Regions from separate parts of the Homo sapiens genome. Here all the other regions are linked to region 6. Evidence: promoter capture Hi-C in 16 types of primary human blood cells and fetal thymus (Javierre and others, 2016). All regions are on one chromosome and are shown on one strand. The core of a region is centred on a gene start or on the middle of the fragment in contact, and the rest is flanking DNA. Distances in the headings are between cores, read along the strand shown. Region 1 holds the start of RHOU (ras homolog family member U). Region 2 has its middle 16 kb from the start of RHOU. Region 3 has its middle 50 kb from the start of RHOU. Region 4 has its middle 33 kb from the start of RHOU. Region 5 has its middle 71 kb from the start of RHOU. Region 6 holds the start of ACTA1 (actin alpha 1, skeletal muscle).

The links. Contacts are between HindIII fragments. The CHiCAGO score rates a contact against its expected background, and 5 or more counts as called.
Region 1: a contact is called between the fragment with the promoter of RHOU here and the fragment with the promoter of ACTA1 in region 6, in 17 of 17 cell types (naive CD8 T cells, total CD4 T cells, non-activated CD4 T cells and 14 more). The highest score is 22.6, in naive CD8 T cells.
Region 2: a fragment that was not itself captured here is called in contact with the fragment with the promoter of ACTA1 in region 6 in 5 of 17 cell types (total CD8 T cells, non-activated CD4 T cells, total CD4 T cells and 2 more); the score reaches 6.4 in total CD8 T cells.
Region 3: a contact is called between a fragment that was not itself captured here and the fragment with the promoter of ACTA1 in region 6, in 1 of 17 cell types (total CD4 T cells). The highest score is 5.6, in total CD4 T cells.
Region 4: a contact is called between a fragment that was not itself captured here and the fragment with the promoter of ACTA1 in region 6, in 9 of 17 cell types (total CD8 T cells, naive CD4 T cells, naive CD8 T cells and 6 more). The highest score is 12.1, in total CD8 T cells.
Region 5: a contact is called between a fragment that was not itself captured here and the fragment with the promoter of ACTA1 in region 6, in 14 of 17 cell types (M2 macrophages, M0 macrophages, total CD8 T cells and 11 more). The highest score is 11.8, in M2 macrophages.

What each region holds. Positions count from the first base shown.
Region 1 is chr1:228,734,223-228,736,922 of GRCh38, reverse strand. RHOU (ras homolog family member U) reads right to left here and starts at 1,444. Exons shown (of 3, transcript NM_021205.6): 1 at 919-1,444. The coding sequence starts at 1,180. The HindIII fragment of the contact is 4,915 bases long and covers 1-2,630 here.
Region 2 is chr1:228,717,707-228,720,406 of GRCh38, reverse strand. It overlaps a transcript of RHOU not described here. Among named protein-coding and RNA genes, the nearest start is that of RHOU, 16 kb to the left of the region's middle. The HindIII fragment of the contact is 4,933 bases long and covers 1-2,700 here.
Region 3 is chr1:228,683,986-228,686,685 of GRCh38, reverse strand. It overlaps a transcript of RHOU not described here. Among named protein-coding and RNA genes, the nearest start is that of RHOU, 50 kb to the left of the region's middle. The HindIII fragment of the contact is 9,589 bases long and covers 1-2,700 here.
Region 4 is chr1:228,701,445-228,704,144 of GRCh38, reverse strand. It overlaps a transcript of RHOU not described here. Among named protein-coding and RNA genes, the nearest start is that of RHOU, 33 kb to the left of the region's middle. The HindIII fragment of the contact is 186 bases long and covers 1,320-1,505 here.
Region 5 is chr1:228,663,371-228,666,070 of GRCh38, reverse strand. It overlaps a transcript of RHOU not described here. Among named protein-coding and RNA genes, the nearest start is that of RHOU, 71 kb to the left of the region's middle. The HindIII fragment of the contact is 596 bases long and covers 1,115-1,710 here.
Region 6 is chr1:229,432,844-229,435,543 of GRCh38, reverse strand. It overlaps ACTA1 (actin alpha 1, skeletal muscle), which reads left to right and starts at 1,450. Exons shown (of 7, transcript NM_001100.4): 1 at 1,450-1,540; 2 at 2,417-2,557; 3 at 2,664-2,700. The coding sequence starts at 2,429. RefSeq lists a silencer at 1,448-1,742. The HindIII fragment of the contact is 9,477 bases long and covers 1-2,700 here.

The sequences.
Region 1 (2,700 bases), core at 195-2,694, 700 kb after region 6:
TACCCTGCGGTGGGAACCCACCAGTACAGCACCCATTTCTCTAAGGTACCTTTGGGATGAAAGGAAGGTCAGAGAAGCAATTTTTTTTTAAAGAAGCAAGACAGTTAAGTGTTTCATACTAGTTTCTGTGAATTTTAACTTTTTCTTAAATTTCAAAAAGACCTGAATAGCAAGATAGAGAATTCCTTTCTCTTTGTATCTACCAAGGGAAATGGCATCGCACCCGGTACATAGGAGCTTTAAGTAGCTTAAAGGGATCCTGAAAAGATACCAACAATCAGAATCCGAGCCCATGTGGGCAGGGAAGGTGGTGGGGCTCAGAAGAAAGAAATGGTGTTTACTCTTCAGGTTTCATCCAAACCTAAGCCTTCACGAGGGCCGCTCGCGCTTTTTCACTAAATCAAGTGTTTTCCCGGCGTCTCCGCGGCTCTTTAAAGCGGAGACGCCCCTTGTGAGCTGAGCCGCCTAAAAGCAAAGGAGCGACGCTCAGGTAAAGGCACCTGCGCGTCACCTTCTGATTGAAACTCTGCAGCGGCGCCAGCGACGTCGCCCTCAGGAAACTTTGCTCTATGCAACAAACTGACCGGGCACCCTGAACTCAACCTGTTTCACTCCTACTTATCTGTTGCTTAAATTGTGAGATTTTTTTTTTTTTTTTTTTTGGCAAGGCTCTGACTGCCGCTCCGCCCTCCTCTCTCCAAGCCCACTCCGCCGTGGTCCTTTCGTGTTAGCTCCGCGCTTGCCCGGTCCCTGAGACTCAGGAAACGTCCTGCACTCCTCATTTGTCCGGCTTCCCAGCTGGAGCCGCGCCCGGGGCCCTGCAGCCCCCTTGGGAACCTCGCGACCCTCGCGCCACCTTCCTTCCCCTGGGTGGACCGCGGCCACGCGCCCCCGGCCCCGGCCCCCCGGCCAGCTCACCGGAGAAGTTGTCGAAGGCAGTAGGGATGTACTCGGTGGGGTAGCCGTTGGTGGTGTAGCTCACCACCAGGCTCGTCTTGCCCACCGCGCCGTCGCCGACCAGCACGCACTTGACGCCGCGCCCCTCGGCACCCCCCGCACGCCCCCGGCCCCCCGGCTCCCCAGGCCCGCGTCCCCCGCGTCCACCGCGCTCCCGACGCGGCGGCACCGGAGGCGCCTCGCAGCGGTCGGGGAACGCGGGGTCCCCCTGCTGCGGGGGCATCGATCCGCGAGCGCGGGCTTGCGGTCGCGGGCTAGCAGGGCCCGGCCCGACCGCCCCTCCGCCCCGGAGGGTTGCGGTAGGGAGGAGCTGTCACCGACAGCTGCGGGCGCGTCCCCGGCCCTGGAGAGTGGCGGTTCCGGGCCGCACGGCCAGTAGACAAAGGCGGCCAGGGAGGGTCGTGGCTCCGCGCTCCGGCGGCGCCAGCCGCTCTGCCCTGCGCTGTTGGAGGACAGCGGTCCGAGCGCCGTGGATCCCAAGCGCTCTGTCTCCGCCCGGCTTCCCGGCGACACGACGCGTGGGGGGCGGGCAGGCGGGCGGGCTGGCGGGGAGGGAAAAGAGGCGGGTCTGGCCGAGCGGCTCGGTCCCCGCGCCAAGACCACAGCGCCCCCCGCCTGCGCGCCGCGCGCCTGCACCCGCGCCCGAGGCGCCGCCGCGACCAGGCGGGGACTGCGAACACTGGCGCGGGAGGACCTGGAACACACGTTCCGGGGGACCCCGCGCACCCGGTCCGGGAAGCGACGCCCGAAGGAGCCGGGCCAGCCTCCGCAGCCTCCTCCCCAGCTCCCAAGAGGGTGACCACCGCGCGACTGGCCCGGGAGGTTCCGCTTTCTGGCGCCCACGCGAGCCAGGAAGCCTGAGCCGCCTCCTATTCACTCCGTGGAGCCCCCGGCTGGCCACGGCTCCACCCAGGGGGAAAAATGAAGTGTCCTGGAGGCCTGTCCTGCGAATGAGATTGAATTAACAGACAGCTTTTTTCCTTAAGTCTAACTGCAGCTGATCGTGTGATTTTTTCTCATTTTGAAGCAAAAGGATGCCAGCTCCATTGTGAATGCTCCTTTGACTTTGTCTTTCGGCATGCCGTGAACCTTTATACATGTATGCTCCAGAAATTTTTTTATACCCCCAATTCCTTCATTTACTTAAAGGTAATTCGGAGACATTAATATGTCTGAAAAAATATTCCGTTTCCCTTTGATTCATTTCTCTCTCTGCCTTCCTTCTACATGTGGTCAACAGTCTATTCAGAAAAAGGACGCCTCTTAGCCAAGTCAGAATACCAAGAGTCCTGGGGGTGTACAGCGTGGTGTGAGAAGGGCCACATATTATTAATACACATTGATACTAGTGGTAGTAAAAATAACAATAACAAATACTGAACTTTCATAATGTGTCAGATACTGTTGTAAGCACTCTTCAAGAACTAATTCTTTTAATCTTAACATTACTTACAGATGAGAACACCTGAGGCACAGAGATATTAAGTAACGTTTTGGGATTCCACAAGCTAGTAAGTGGCAATGCCAGGATCCAAACCCAAATAGTCTAGCCCCAGAGCCTGAGCTTCTAACCAAAATCCTGGAGGCAAAAATAAGTCAGTATGATAAACGTAATCTTGAACGTATGGCCATGGTCAGAATGCAGAGATGGATTTATCAAGAAGTTAGAAGCTTGAATCCAGGACCCCTGACTTGCAAAGGACACTTTCACATTGGAAGACCTAGCAATGTGTACACGTGGTA
Region 2 (2,700 bases), core at 125-2,624, 720 kb after region 6:
TTTGGGGAGACAAAATTTATATATTTTGGATATATGAATTCAAATTTCAGCTCATAACCATGTAGATAATCTTACTTGTACTTCTTCTATGCTTATGCTATGATAGTATGTATTATGTATGGAAAATTACATGATAATCAATTTTCTGTTGTTTTAAAATGTTTGTTGTTTGTACACACACAAAAAACTGTGCTGAAGTGCCCATAATCTAATAGGAGTCCTTTTTTTTCTTTTAATTTTCTGTAGAGACGGGGTCTCGCTATGTTGCCCAGGCTGGTATCAAACTCCTGGCCTCAAGTGATCCTCCTGCTTTAGCCTCCAAAGTTGCTCGGATTATGGACATGAGCCACCTTGCCTGGCTTCTAATAGGAATTCTTATGATTATACTGTGAGACCAAATATAAATGTTCATAAAAGGGTGCTTATGTCTAACTTTTTTAAAAGATACGGCGATATTTTAATGTAATTTTCTTGGATTATTTTAGGTCTGCTTGGGAGCAATGATAGTATTCTCAAAAGAAGTAATAACCAGTGCAGGTCAGGAGAGAAAGCTACTGAATTAAGAAAAGATAAATTATTTAAAGGTAAATCAAAAGGACTGGCCAACCTGAATTCAGTTGCAGTTTTATCATTTTTTTTGTTGTTGTTGTTTGCTTGTATGTTTTTTGTTTTGTTTTAAGACAGAGTCATGTTCTGTCGCCCGGGCTGGAGTGCAGTGGTGTGATCCCAGCTCACTGCAAACTCCACCCCCAGGGTTCAAGTGATCCTCCCTCCTTAGCCTCCCAAGTAGCTGGGATTACAAGTGTGCACCACCATGCCCGGCTAATTTTTATATTTTTAGTAGAGGTGGGGTTTCACCATGTTGGCCAGGCTGGTCTCGAACTCCAGACCTCAAGTGATTCACCAACCTCAGCTTTCCAAAGTGCGGGGACTACAGGCGTGAGCCACCACACCCAGCCCAATTATTAATTGTGTGATTTTGAGCCTCAGTAAATATTAGTTCCCTTTTCCTTGATTAGTGTGATAATATACTCCAGAAACAGAATAGTGTGCTAATGACTTTTGGAAAACACACGATTTTATAAATTGAAAATCCAACAGTTTTTATTGTTTCTTTAGAGAATCAAGGCACAAAGTAAATGATCAATAAACATTGGATGAATGCATGGATTGATGAATACATGGATTGATCAACCAATGGATAGATAGGAAAGCAAAATGATACAGGAATATAGAAGGATGTTTTTCTAAGTCTCACTTGATCTGAACTGTAACCAAATATTGACATGGCTGGTGAAGCCATCAGGATACTCCACTCCTCCTCCTTCTACTCTCATATACCCCCTCCAACATAGGTGCTGTAGAATAGATGCCATTAAAGGGCTTTCTAAAATTAAATTTCAAACCTTTTAGACGATATATTCTGTTTTAAAGCCATACTTCCTTTTGATCTCTCAACTGGCTGATTTGAGTTGGTGCTGACACCAGATTTAGTTCACTCCCTCTCAAAACCTGCTTCCCTGCCTAGTAAGAGATGCACTCCCTCCTGCAGTGAGCATCCAGGGTCACCCGCAGTGGACATTCCCAGTTCATGTTCTGGCGGAAGTGTTTATAGCAGTCTACAACCAACCTGGTCCTCCTGGTTCACACCTTAGACTCTAGGCTTCTGGATGAGAAAGACAGTTTTCTAAGTTCTCTCACATAGTCTGCATCTGAGCTTTAAACCACCTTGTACTTATTCTGCATATGCTTCCCTCCTTTCAGAAAGTTCCCTAAGACTCTGGGCCTCTACTTGTCTAATACTTGTTTCAACCCATTTCTTTATCCTGTTGATAAAGGCAGTTTTGATGCTTACTGAAGCTCAGCTTTTTCTACACTCTTCTAGACTGGCAAAGGGCATATCTAAGACAGCCCCAATAATCCTGCCTCCTGGAATTCATGAGTCTCATGAGTCAGAACCACCCAATTAAACTGCTCCCCAATTCCTAACTCACATAAACTTGTTGTTTTCAGCCATTATATTCTGGGCTAATTTTTTAGGTGGCAATAGATAACTAATATACTTCCCAAGCTGTCCAAACCTTAATTGTAGATTCCATCTGTCCTTAAAACTTATTTGCATCATCCTACCATCTTCCCAGCATGGCTACAAGCAAACTTCTTGATTCTCCCTATTTCAAAGCTGTTCTTTCTCCTAAGCCCATTCACTGGAAAGCAATGGATGCATCTTTTTTGGAGGACGTAGGGGAACTCAGGGTATCACCACTTCCTGTCACCTCCCCAGGTTCTCATTATGATCTCTAATTTAAGTGTCCCCAAGGAAATGGTCTTTTGGAATCCTATTTTTAAATACTGAGTTATCTATCTTTACTATGTAGAATAAGAACAGACATAATGTTCTCAAAGGAGGTCAGCCCAGATGAAATGATTGATACATATGTCCTATCCTTTATATTCAGACATGACACTACCCTGCTGGTCCAATGTGTTAATGGAGGGCATGGAATTACCCGAATTTTTTATTGTGTCCAGTTCTTCTGATCTTGAATTAACTTTTTAAATGACTGGCTGGATTCATGGGAGCTGTCCATGGAACAGTTCCTGTGTCCAGAAACACATAACTGGATTAGGTTGAGAAGGAAGTAGGGCGCCACTCTCATTAACTGAAATGACTGGCCACCAATAAAATATCTGTTTATG
Region 3 (2,700 bases), core at 10-2,509, 750 kb after region 6:
GCTGACTCTGTTGCCAGACCAGACCTTTAAAAAGCCATTGCTTTTCATAGCAAAAACCGCAATGAGTTTTGCACCGACCCAATACTAAAAGAGGGCAAGTGCTCACCATGGCTTGCACTAAATATCAGTTGTCTCATGGTGTAGGAGAGTATTCCTCTAGATTTCTGAAACTGAAATTCAGAAATATATTGTCAAACATAATAGGTTTTAAACTGCAAATATGTAATTATTGTATTTTATATATTTTTATTGTTTTATTGCCATTTTAGAAATTTTAAGCATACAATTCAATGGCATTAATTATATTCATAATGTTGTACAACTATCACCACTATTTCCAAAATATTTCATCTCCTCAAACAGAAACTCTTTATTATAATAATATTAGTTAATAAAACACATTGAGTAACTACAAAGTACTAATCACTATATAGCTATTGTTTCATTTAAATATCATAGAAACCTCATGAGTTAGTTATTTTTATTTTATTCATGAAGAAGTTGAAGATAAGGGAGATTTAACTAATTCCTCTAAATCTAATAAGTAGCAAAATTATAACTAAAACTCAAATATAACACAACCCTATAAGCAAGTCAGATTTTGGGGTCAATGGACTAATACAAAAGTCTGATCACTAACTTACATTGTGTTTCCTCTTAATGGTTTTATTTCATCTTCATATAATAAGATGTCAAAGTGTAAAACTCTGATCTTATAAACTCTGATCAGAATAAAATTACTAAGATTCTTGGCTTTAAAAATGCTTCCATTTACAGATTCTTTTAATAATAGCTCTGGGGATAATTAAGGGTTGCACTAGATTAACTCTTGAAGAGAAAGGAGTCGGTAGACAAAAAAGTTCTGAGTGTCAAATGCTACTGATTAAGGGTTTCACTAAAGGAGAACAAAGAGGTTTTTCAATTAGAATGTAAGTCAATGAGAAGATTAATTTTGATTAACAGAAATACATTTAACCTATATATAATTTTAACAGGAAGATATATATTCACATACAGTCATTTCATGAGTCTCTGAATACTTTAGTTATCTTCTAAAACTCTCAAATTCCCCAGTAAATTCTCAGAGCAGTATCCTATCATTCTCTGGCTCCAAATGCTCAATAGATTTCCATTTTAATTTTTCACAGAATCAACCATCCAGAGAATGGTGCTCCATTTGGTTCCAGTTTTGTTTCTCCTAATTTCCCTTTGTGGTCATTTCTCTTTACAGCATTTGCTCTCTTTCTAGTCTCTCACTCTGAGTTTCAGTTTCCAAGTATTTGTTAAAACTCATTCCCAAATTCCTACTGTCAGAGGCATTGGAACCAGAGCAACTCCATCTTAATAGAGGCTGGGTAAAATAAGGCTGAGGCCTACTGGGCTGCATTCCCAGACACTTAAGGCATTCTAAGTCACAGGATGAGATAAGAAGTCAGCACAAGATACAGGTCATAAAGACCTTGCTGACAGAACAGACTGCAGTAAAGAAGCCAGCCAAAACCCACCAATACCAAGATGGCAATGAGAGTGACCTCTGGTCATCCTCACTGCTACGCTCCTACCAGCACCATGGCAGTTTACAAATGTCATGGCAATGTCAGGAAGTTACCCTATATAGCCTAAAAATGGGAGACATAAATAATGCACCCGTTGTTTAGAATATCATCAAAAAATAACCATAGAAATAGGCAACCAGCAGCTCTCGGAGTAGCTGGTCTGCTCTGTCTATGGAGTAGCCGTTCTTTTATTCCTCCACTTTCCTAGTAAACTTGCTTTCACTTTACAAACTCGTCCTGAATTCTTTCTTACACAAGATCAAGAACACTCTCTTAGGGTCTGAGCTATTATCGGGACCGTTTCCTGGAACAGCACCACGTTCCCTTTTGGTCTGCAAGCCAGAAACTGGAAGTCATCCTTGTGGTTCCTTCTCCCTCACCCTCACAACTACTCTATTACCAGAGCCTGCATGTTTTTTCCTGCCTTATGGGGGTGGCTGCAAAATCTAGCACCCAAACAGGAACGATTCTGAGAGTGAAAAGGACTAATATTAACAGTTATGTCAGCAGGGCACAGTAGATCACGCCTGTAATCCCAATACTTAGGCCGAGACACGTGGATCACTTGAGCCCAGGAGTTCAAAACTAGCCTGGCCAACATGGCAAAACACCATTTCTACAAAAAATACAAAAATTAGCCGGGCATGGTGGTGCACGCCTGTAGTCCCAGCTACTCAGGGGGCTGCGGTGGAAGGATCACTTTAGCCCAGGAGGTGGAGGTTGCAATGTGCCAGATCTTGCCACTGCACTCCAGCCTGGATGACACATGAGACCTAGTCTCAAAAAACAAACTGGCCAGGCGCAGTGGCTCACATGGGTAATCTCAGCACAGTGGGAGGCTGAGGCGGGAGGATCACCTGAGGTCAGCAGTTCAAGACCAGCCTGGCCATCAGGGTGAAACCCTATCGCTACTAAAAATACAAAAATTAGACCATCATGGTGGCACACACCTGTAATCCCAGCTATCAGGAGGCTGAGGCAGGAGAATTGCTTGAACCTGGGAGCTGGAGGTTGCAGTGAGCCGAGATCATGCCACTGCACTCCAGCCTGGGCGACAGAGCAAGACTCCGTCTCAAAAAGAAAGAAAGAAACAAACAAAAACCAGTCTTCAACCACAGGCATACGCTGGGATTCTATGATCTCC
Region 4 (2,700 bases), core at 163-2,662, 730 kb after region 6:
TGCATTATTTTGAGTCCTTGATGAGCCTTCCACTGGATACAAAATATAGTCTGGCTCAGTGAATCTTCATTTTTACATAAACAATAGGGCAGAGGAAGCAATCAGATATGCATTTGTCTAAGGTGAGCCTCAGAAGGAGACTTGGAGTTCTATCTTTCCGTTGTCCACCAAGAATTTCCTTGTGGGCAAATTGTGAGGGAGGTATGTCACTTTTTATCTTTGTAGCTATCTTATTTAGGAATGAAATGGGAGGCAGGGTGCCTGACATAGGTCCCAGCTTGACTTTTCCCTTGGCTCAGTGATTTGGGGTCCTAAGATTTATTTTCCTTACACATATCCCAACCAAAGGCAAAAAGAAAGCTATCCTGGATACAGTGTTTATAAAAAGTAGGCCCTCAGATTAAATGGCCTTGATTCTTTTTCAAAGCTATCCATGCTAAGTCCAGGTATAGAGAATGCTTTAATTGCTGTGTTTCTTAATGAGCTCCATCCTGAACTCAGTAGTTTTAGCTAAGAAAAAGTAGCTAAGTTAAGAAGACCACCTATTAAACTAAAACAGTCTCTAAAATATACTTTTCTGGCATTTAGCTGGCTATCTTAAAACACTTTTTTTTTTTCAGAGATGGAGTCTCACTCTGTTGCCCAGTCTGGAGTGCAGTGGCGCGATCTCAGCTCACTGCAACCATCACCTCCCGGGTTCACGCCATTCTCCTGCCTCAGCCTCCCGAGTAGCTGGGACTACAGGTGCCCACCACCACACCTGGCTAATTTTTTCTATTTTTAGTAGAGACGGGGTTTCACCATGTTAGCCAGGATGGTCTCGATCTCCTGACCTCATGATCCGCGCGCCTCGGCCTCCCAAAGTGCTGGGATTACAGATGTGAGACGCCGCGCCTGGCCCCAAAACACTTTTATAGGAGAAATTTATATCTCTAAAAGAAATTTCCATTTGAAAGGGTGTCTGAGAGGGAGGACTGGGTCACTAGAAACTCTTACTGTTGTTTTAAATGTACATACATTGTCTTGCCTTTGTTTAAGGTGCTTTTCCAGGCCATGCTGCCTTAACCGGATCTTTATGTACAATCTTTTCCCTTGGTTTGAGCAACTGATAGTACAATATTTAGGCCTAAAATCTCAGCTCTGTGCTTTTGAGAATTTTCTACCTTGTTTCACCTAAGAGTCATCCCTTTAGGAGGCAGATTGTGGAGTAGCTAACAACTACTTAGAGCAATAAAACAGATAGTTCTAAGACTGATAGTATGAATGGGGAAAAGAAAAACTATTTGAAAGCTGACAAATGAGAATTCTTCATGGAAGCTTTAAGACCTGCTTGTGTCTATATGTCTATATGTGTATGTGATACTATTTGGTGAAGAAAGCTAGTTTTTAAATTGTTGGTAAAATAAAATAAAAAAATGACTTCAGAATTGTCACTTAAAGATAATATAGATATTTATGCCTGAGTCTACTGGTCAGACAGGTTTATGCTATCTCTGCTTCAAGCTTTAAGGTCATAAAACTTCTGCTTCTGTTATGTTTTTGATATTTGCTTGATTTGACTGTGAGCTTATGTTTTTGTTTTCCGAGCCTCTGGATTCTGGGGTCCAGACAGGTGACCTTGGTAACATATGGGGACATGTCCTCAGTGTCTATATCACCACCTACAGGGCACAGTCAAGCTCAAAATGACCCCTTTCTCCCTGGCCCAGCTTTGCCTCCTGGCCATTCTGTGAAGGGCTGAATGCTCCAGTCATCATCTTCATAGCTGTCTTCTGTCCTGAATTCTATACCTAGTATGTAAATTTAGGACCCAGATGGGACCTCCCCTTATAGCCATCCTAGGTGTCATGTGGCTACTTGAGACCCAGGATGACTGGGAAAAACATTAGAAAGGGTACTTGTATCATAGTATTAATATTCTTTTCAGTAATTTAAATCTTAAAGTCATATTATTTTAAATTAAGTACCAGATAATCATAAAATGTCTGAGTTTTTTTACAAGTATGTTAAAATACTAAAACATTAATTATTAAACATAAATTTAAGTTTATATAATTTGGCATCTTATTTTTCTGTGATATAAAAAAGCTAAATATATGTAGATCTGTTAATGAACAAAAATTTGAGCAAACATATCTTTGTAAAAATTATAAAATGGTTTTCATCTATAAATACTGATATAAAACAGTTCAGAATTACTTTTTAGACTTTTACTGAAAATTAGGGTGACTAAGAGTTAAAATTATAGTTAACATATGTAATTAAAACTACATATATAAGAGAATTCTATATACAAAGTGTACTAACAAAAAAGACATGCTTTGATTAAAAAAAAGCTGTAAAAGAATACAAATACATAGCTGTTGAGAAAAAATTACTTTGTCCAGTTTAGAAGTTACTTAAATATTATTTTACGATAAAAGAATTTTAAAAGATATAAATAAAACTAAATAATATTAAAAGTCAGGAAGAAAAAGAATTTTTAAAATTTTGTAAGAGATTATAAAACATTTATGAAATCTGCATGGTCAAAAGCTGACTGAGATTAGTTTGTTTATAAGGTTTTATTAAAATCAGCTTTAATATTGATAATTCATTAATACAAAAGCAAACTTTGGTTTTCTCTTTTAAACAAGATTTTTGTAAAGTAATAATAAGAGATAATAAAAAATTTTTGTTCACTTTTAGAGACATCTCAAA
Region 5 (2,700 bases), core at 163-2,662, 770 kb after region 6:
TGGGGGGATCACTTGAACCCGGGAGGCAGAGGTTGCAGTGAGCCGAGATCACACCACTGCACTCCAGCCTTGGTGAGAGCAAGGTTCTGTCAAAAAAAAAAGAACACTTCTAGATGCTGGGGTGAAGAAGGCTTTTGTCCATCTTGTGTTAATTATGACCTTTTTATTCTGTATTTTTGATGCTTTGACATCTTGGGGCCTTGCTGACCCTGGAGGGACTGCTTTCTCCCAGGGTAGAAGGTATTACTATTTGAACCACTAGACTGAGTCAAAATGATCTGTCCTCACCAATGTGGATAGGCATTATTCTTCCAATTCCTTGAAGGTCTCAACAGAACAAAAAGACAGGGGAAGGACAAATTTGCTCTTTATTCTGGAGCTAGGACATCCAACTTCTGCTCTCTGACATCAGAACTGCAGGTTCTCAATCCTGGGACTCTGGGACTCATATTAGTGTTCCCCATCCCACTCTACTCAAAGATATATTACTGTCCCCACTCCACTCAAAGATATATTACTGTTCCCCACTCCACTCTACCAAAGATACCTGATTTGAGTCACTCAGAAGACTAGGTAGGGGTTTATTGAGGGAGCTGGCAACCCATCCCCGACATGTGTGACCCAGCCAGAACCAGAGCAGTAGGAGCCTCACTGCCTTCACCCTAGTGCTGCCACGTAGAGCAGCTAGAGCCTCTCCTGTGGACTCAAGCCTGACAGTGGGAGTTCCCTTGGGAAGGTAGGATCACCTTCACCTCTTTATCTTGGTTTCTTTATCGGTACAATGGAAATGGTAATAATAGTACCTAAATCTTGGGGTTATCATAAAGATTAAAGTAATTAAAGCATGTGAAGTGCTTAGACCATGCCTAGTGCATAGCAGGCACTTTATAATCATTTACTTCAATAAAAACATAGGTCCTGGAGCCAAAGGCTTGACCTTAATTGATATGTGAACCAGGTAAAAGTCACTTAGCCATTCTGAGTTTCAGTTTTCTTATTTGTAAAATGAAAATAAAATAGTACCTATCTTGAAGGGTTTTCATGAAGATTAAATAAGCTAATAGGAAGAAATCACCATAACAGCCTGGCACCACAAATGTTAGTTAATAAAGCTTGGCAAGCCGGGCACGGTGGCTCACACCTGTAATCCCAGCACTTTGGGAGGCCGAGGCGGATGGATCACCTGAGGTCGGTGGATCACCTGAGGTCAGGATTTCGAGACCAAAATGGCCAACATGGTGAAACCCCATCTCTACCAAAATACAAAAAATTAGCCGGTCATGGTGGCAGGCGCCTGTAAACCCAGCTACTCGGGAGGCTGAAGCAGAAGAATTGCTTGAACCTGGGAGACGGAGGTTGCAATGAGCTGAGATTGCGCCATTGCACTCCAGCCTGGGCAACAAGGACAAACCTCTGTCTCAAAATCAATCAATCTTGGCAATGAACACGGGTTCCTCCTGGCAAAGGTTTTGGCTCTGTGGGGTAATGCTGCCCTCTGCCGGACAATTTGGTTTCTTGCTTTGTTTGTTTTAATAAACTGTTGGGTTTTTTCCCAAAGTCCCACCCCACCTAGCAAAAAGGTTAACATTCTTCATAAAGATTATTTTCTCAGAATACGTTTCTGAGAAAATGAGTACAAACATGATTTGTTGATTCGCTATCCGCAAATGGCTTTCCTCATTTGAGGAACAAATGAGCCACTTGGAAGCTTACTTGGGCTGCAATTTTATTTCCAATTTTATCTTTATGAAGAAATCCAGGCCGAGCGCAGCGGCTCACACCTGTAATCCCAACACTTTGGGAGGCCGAGGAGGGCCGATGCCCAGGAGTTCGAGACCAGCCTGGGAAATATGGAGAAACCTCGCCTCTACAAAAACTACAAAAAATTAGCCGAGCCTGGTGGCACACATCTGTAGTCCCAGCTACTCGGTAGGCTGAAGTGGGAGATCACGCGAGCCCGAGAGGTCAAGACTGCAGTGAGCCGTGATAGTGCCACTGCTCTCCAGCCTGGGCGACAGAAGATAAGAAAAGAAGAGAAGGGAAGAGAAAAAAAGGAGAGGGGAGAGGAGGGGAGGGGAGGGGAGGGGAGGGAAGGGGAGGGGAGGGGAGGGGAGAAGAAAAAGAAATCCAGCTATGTTGGCCGGGCGTGGCGGCTCGCGCCTGTAATCCCAGCACTTTGAGAGGCCAAGGCGGGTGGATCACTTGAGGTCAGGAGTTCGGGACCAGCCTGGCCAACATGGTGAAGCCCCGTCTCTACTAAAAATACAAAAATTAGCCAGGTATGGTGTCGCGCGCGCGTAATCCCAGCTACGTGGGAGGCTGAGGCAGGAGAATCGCTTGATCTCGGGAGGCGGAGGTTGCAGTGAGTTGAGATCATGCCACTGCACCCCAGCCTGGGGGACAGAGTGAAATTCCGTCTCAAAAAAAAAAAAAAAAAAAAAAAAAGAAAAGAAAAGAAAAGAAAAGAAAAACAGAAAAGAAAAATAAAAATAAAGAAAAATAATGTCAGCTATGTGTTGAGATATTGCTGCTTAATTTTTTTTAACTTTTCTTTTTTCTTCTTAAACTCAATAGTAAGAATATGCTTAACTTTTCCGATTTTCCTTATTATTGCTTTCCTATGAGTTGAGAATATTGTGATAAGTGCCTAGTCTGGTAATTTGCACACACATTGTATTCTCTTGTTACAGTTACAGTGTG
Region 6 (2,700 bases), core at 201-2,700:
GGTTAGAACTGTCCTTGTCTTAGGGAAAAAGGAGAGAGAGAGAGAGAGAGAGAGAGAGAGAGAGAGAGAGAGAGAGAGAGAGGGACAGGCACCAACTGGGTAACCTCTGCTGACCCCCACTCTACTTTACCATAAGTAGCTCCAAATCCTTCTAGAAAATCTGAAAGGCATAGCCCCATATATCAGTGATATAAATAGAACCTGCAGCAGGCTCTGGTAAATGATGACTACAAGGTGGACTGGGAGGCAGCCCGGCCTTGGCAGGCATCATCCTCTAAATATAAAGATGAGTTTGTTCAGCCTTTGCAGAAGGAAAAACTGCCACCCATCCTAGAGTGCCGCGTCCTTGTCCCCCCACCCCCTCCAATTTATTGGGAGGAAGGACCAGCTAAGCCTCATCTAGGAAGAGCCCCTCACCCATCTCCACCTCCACTCCAGGTCTAGCCAGTCCTGGGTTGTGACCCTTGTCTTTCAGCCCCAGGAGAGGGACACACATAGTGCCACCAAAGAGGCTGGGGGAGGGCCTCAGCCCACCAAAACCTGGGGCCAGTGCGTCCTACAGGAGGGGAACCCTCACCCCTTCAATCCCTTTAGGAGACCCAAGGGCGCTGCGCGTCCCTGAGGCGGACAGCTCCGTGTGCTCAGGCTTTGCGCCTGACAGGCCTATCCCCGGGAGCCCCCGCGCCTCCTCCCCGGCGCTCCGCCCTCGCCTCCCCCCGCCAGTTGTCTATCCTGCGACAGCTGCGCGCCCTCCGGCCGCCGGTGGCCCTCTGTGCGGTGGGGGAAGGGGTCGACGTGGCTCAGCTTTTTGGATTCAGGGAGCTCGGGGGTGGGAAGAGAGAAATGGAGTTCCAGGGGCGTAAAGGAGAGGGAGTTCGCCTTCCTTCCCTTCCTGAGACTCAGGAGTGACTGCTTCTCCAATCCTCCCAAGCCCACCACTCCACACGACTCCCTCTTCCCGGTAGTCGCAAGTGGGAGTTTGGGGATCTGAGCAAAGAACCCGAAGAGGAGTTGAAATATTGGAAGTCAGCAGTCAGGCACCTTCCCGAGCGCCCAGGGCGCTCAGAGTGGACATGGTTGGGGAGGCCTTTGGGACAGGTGCGGTTCCCGGAGCGCAGGCGCACACATGCACCCACCGGCGAACGCGGTGACCCTCGCCCCACCCCATCCCCTCCGGCGGGCAACTGGGTCGGGTCAGGAGGGGCAAACCCGCTAGGGAGACACTCCATATACGGCCCGGCCCGCGTTACCTGGGACCGGGCCAACCCGCTCCTTCTTTGGTCAACGCAGGGGACCCGGGCGGGGGCCCAGGCCGCGAACCGGCCGAGGGAGGGGGCTCTAGTGCCCAACACCCAAATATGGCTCGAGAAGGGCAGCGACATTCCTGCGGGGTGGCGCGGAGGGAATGCCCGCGGGCTATATAAAACCTGAGCAGAGGGACAAGCGGCCACCGCAGCGGACAGCGCCAAGTGAAGCCTCGCTTCCCCTCCGCGGCGACCAGGGCCCGAGCCGAGAGTAGCAGTTGTAGCTACCCGCCCAGGTAGGGCAGGAGTTGGGAGGGGACAGGGGGACAGGGCACTACCGAGGGGAACCTGAAGGACTCCGGGGCAGAACCCAGTCGGTTCACCTGGTCAGCCCCAGGCCTGCGCCCTGAGCGCTGTGCCTCGTCTCCGGAGCCACACGCGCTTTAAAAAGGAGGCAAGACAGTCAGCCTCTGGAAATTAGACTTCTCCAAATTTTTCTCTAGCCCCTTTGGGCTCCTTTACCTGGCATGTAGGATGTGCCTAGGGAGATAAACGGTTTTGCTTTAGTTGTCGCCAAGGCAGTTCCCTTCCAAACTAGCGCTAGAGCGAATGAGCGAGCAGCCAGGACCACCCATTCTGGGTTTCCAACAGGCGAAAAGGCCCTTTCTGAGTTTGAAATGTCACAGGGTTCCTAACAGGCCACTCTTCCCTGGATGGGGTGCCAACGCCTTTCCCATGGGCATCTCCTTCCACCCTCACGCTGGCCCAGCAAGCAGGCAGTGCTGAGGCCTTATCTCCCTAGGTGACAGATGTGGTCAGGGAGGCGCAGAGAGGATGGGCACTAGCGTCCAGCTCCTGGAACAGGTGTCAGGCAGGGAGGGCAGACAGGTCTTGGGGAACATGTTCCCCTGGCTATGTGGACAGAGGACTTCTCAGTGGGGTCTCGCGACCCTGTGCCCCTTTTCCTGGTTCAGGGCAGCCCTTAGCCGGGGCAAAGGTCGAGAAGAGAACCCCTGGTCGCCGCCCTGGCAGAATTTGAGTGGCTCCGGCAGGAGATGTCCCTAGGTTCCTGGGGAGGGAGGACGTCGGGGCCAGCCAGGCTTACCCCCCCCTGCCGCTGAGACTTCTGCGCTGATGCACCGCGCCTCTTCGCGGTCTCCCTGTCCTTGCAGAAACTAGACACAATGTGCGACGAAGACGAGACCACCGCCCTCGTGTGCGACAATGGCTCCGGCCTGGTGAAAGCCGGCTTCGCCGGGGATGACGCCCCTAGGGCCGTGTTCCCGTCCATCGTGGGCCGCCCCCGACACCAGGTCAGGCTGCCCCTCCGCAGAGGGAGCCGGCTCGGGGTCCCCGCGTAAGCCAGCCTGGTGCCACCCGGAGCGGCGTTAACGGGTGCGTGGTGTCTCGGCTCTGCAGGGCGTCATGGTCGGTATGGGTCAGAAAGATTCCTACG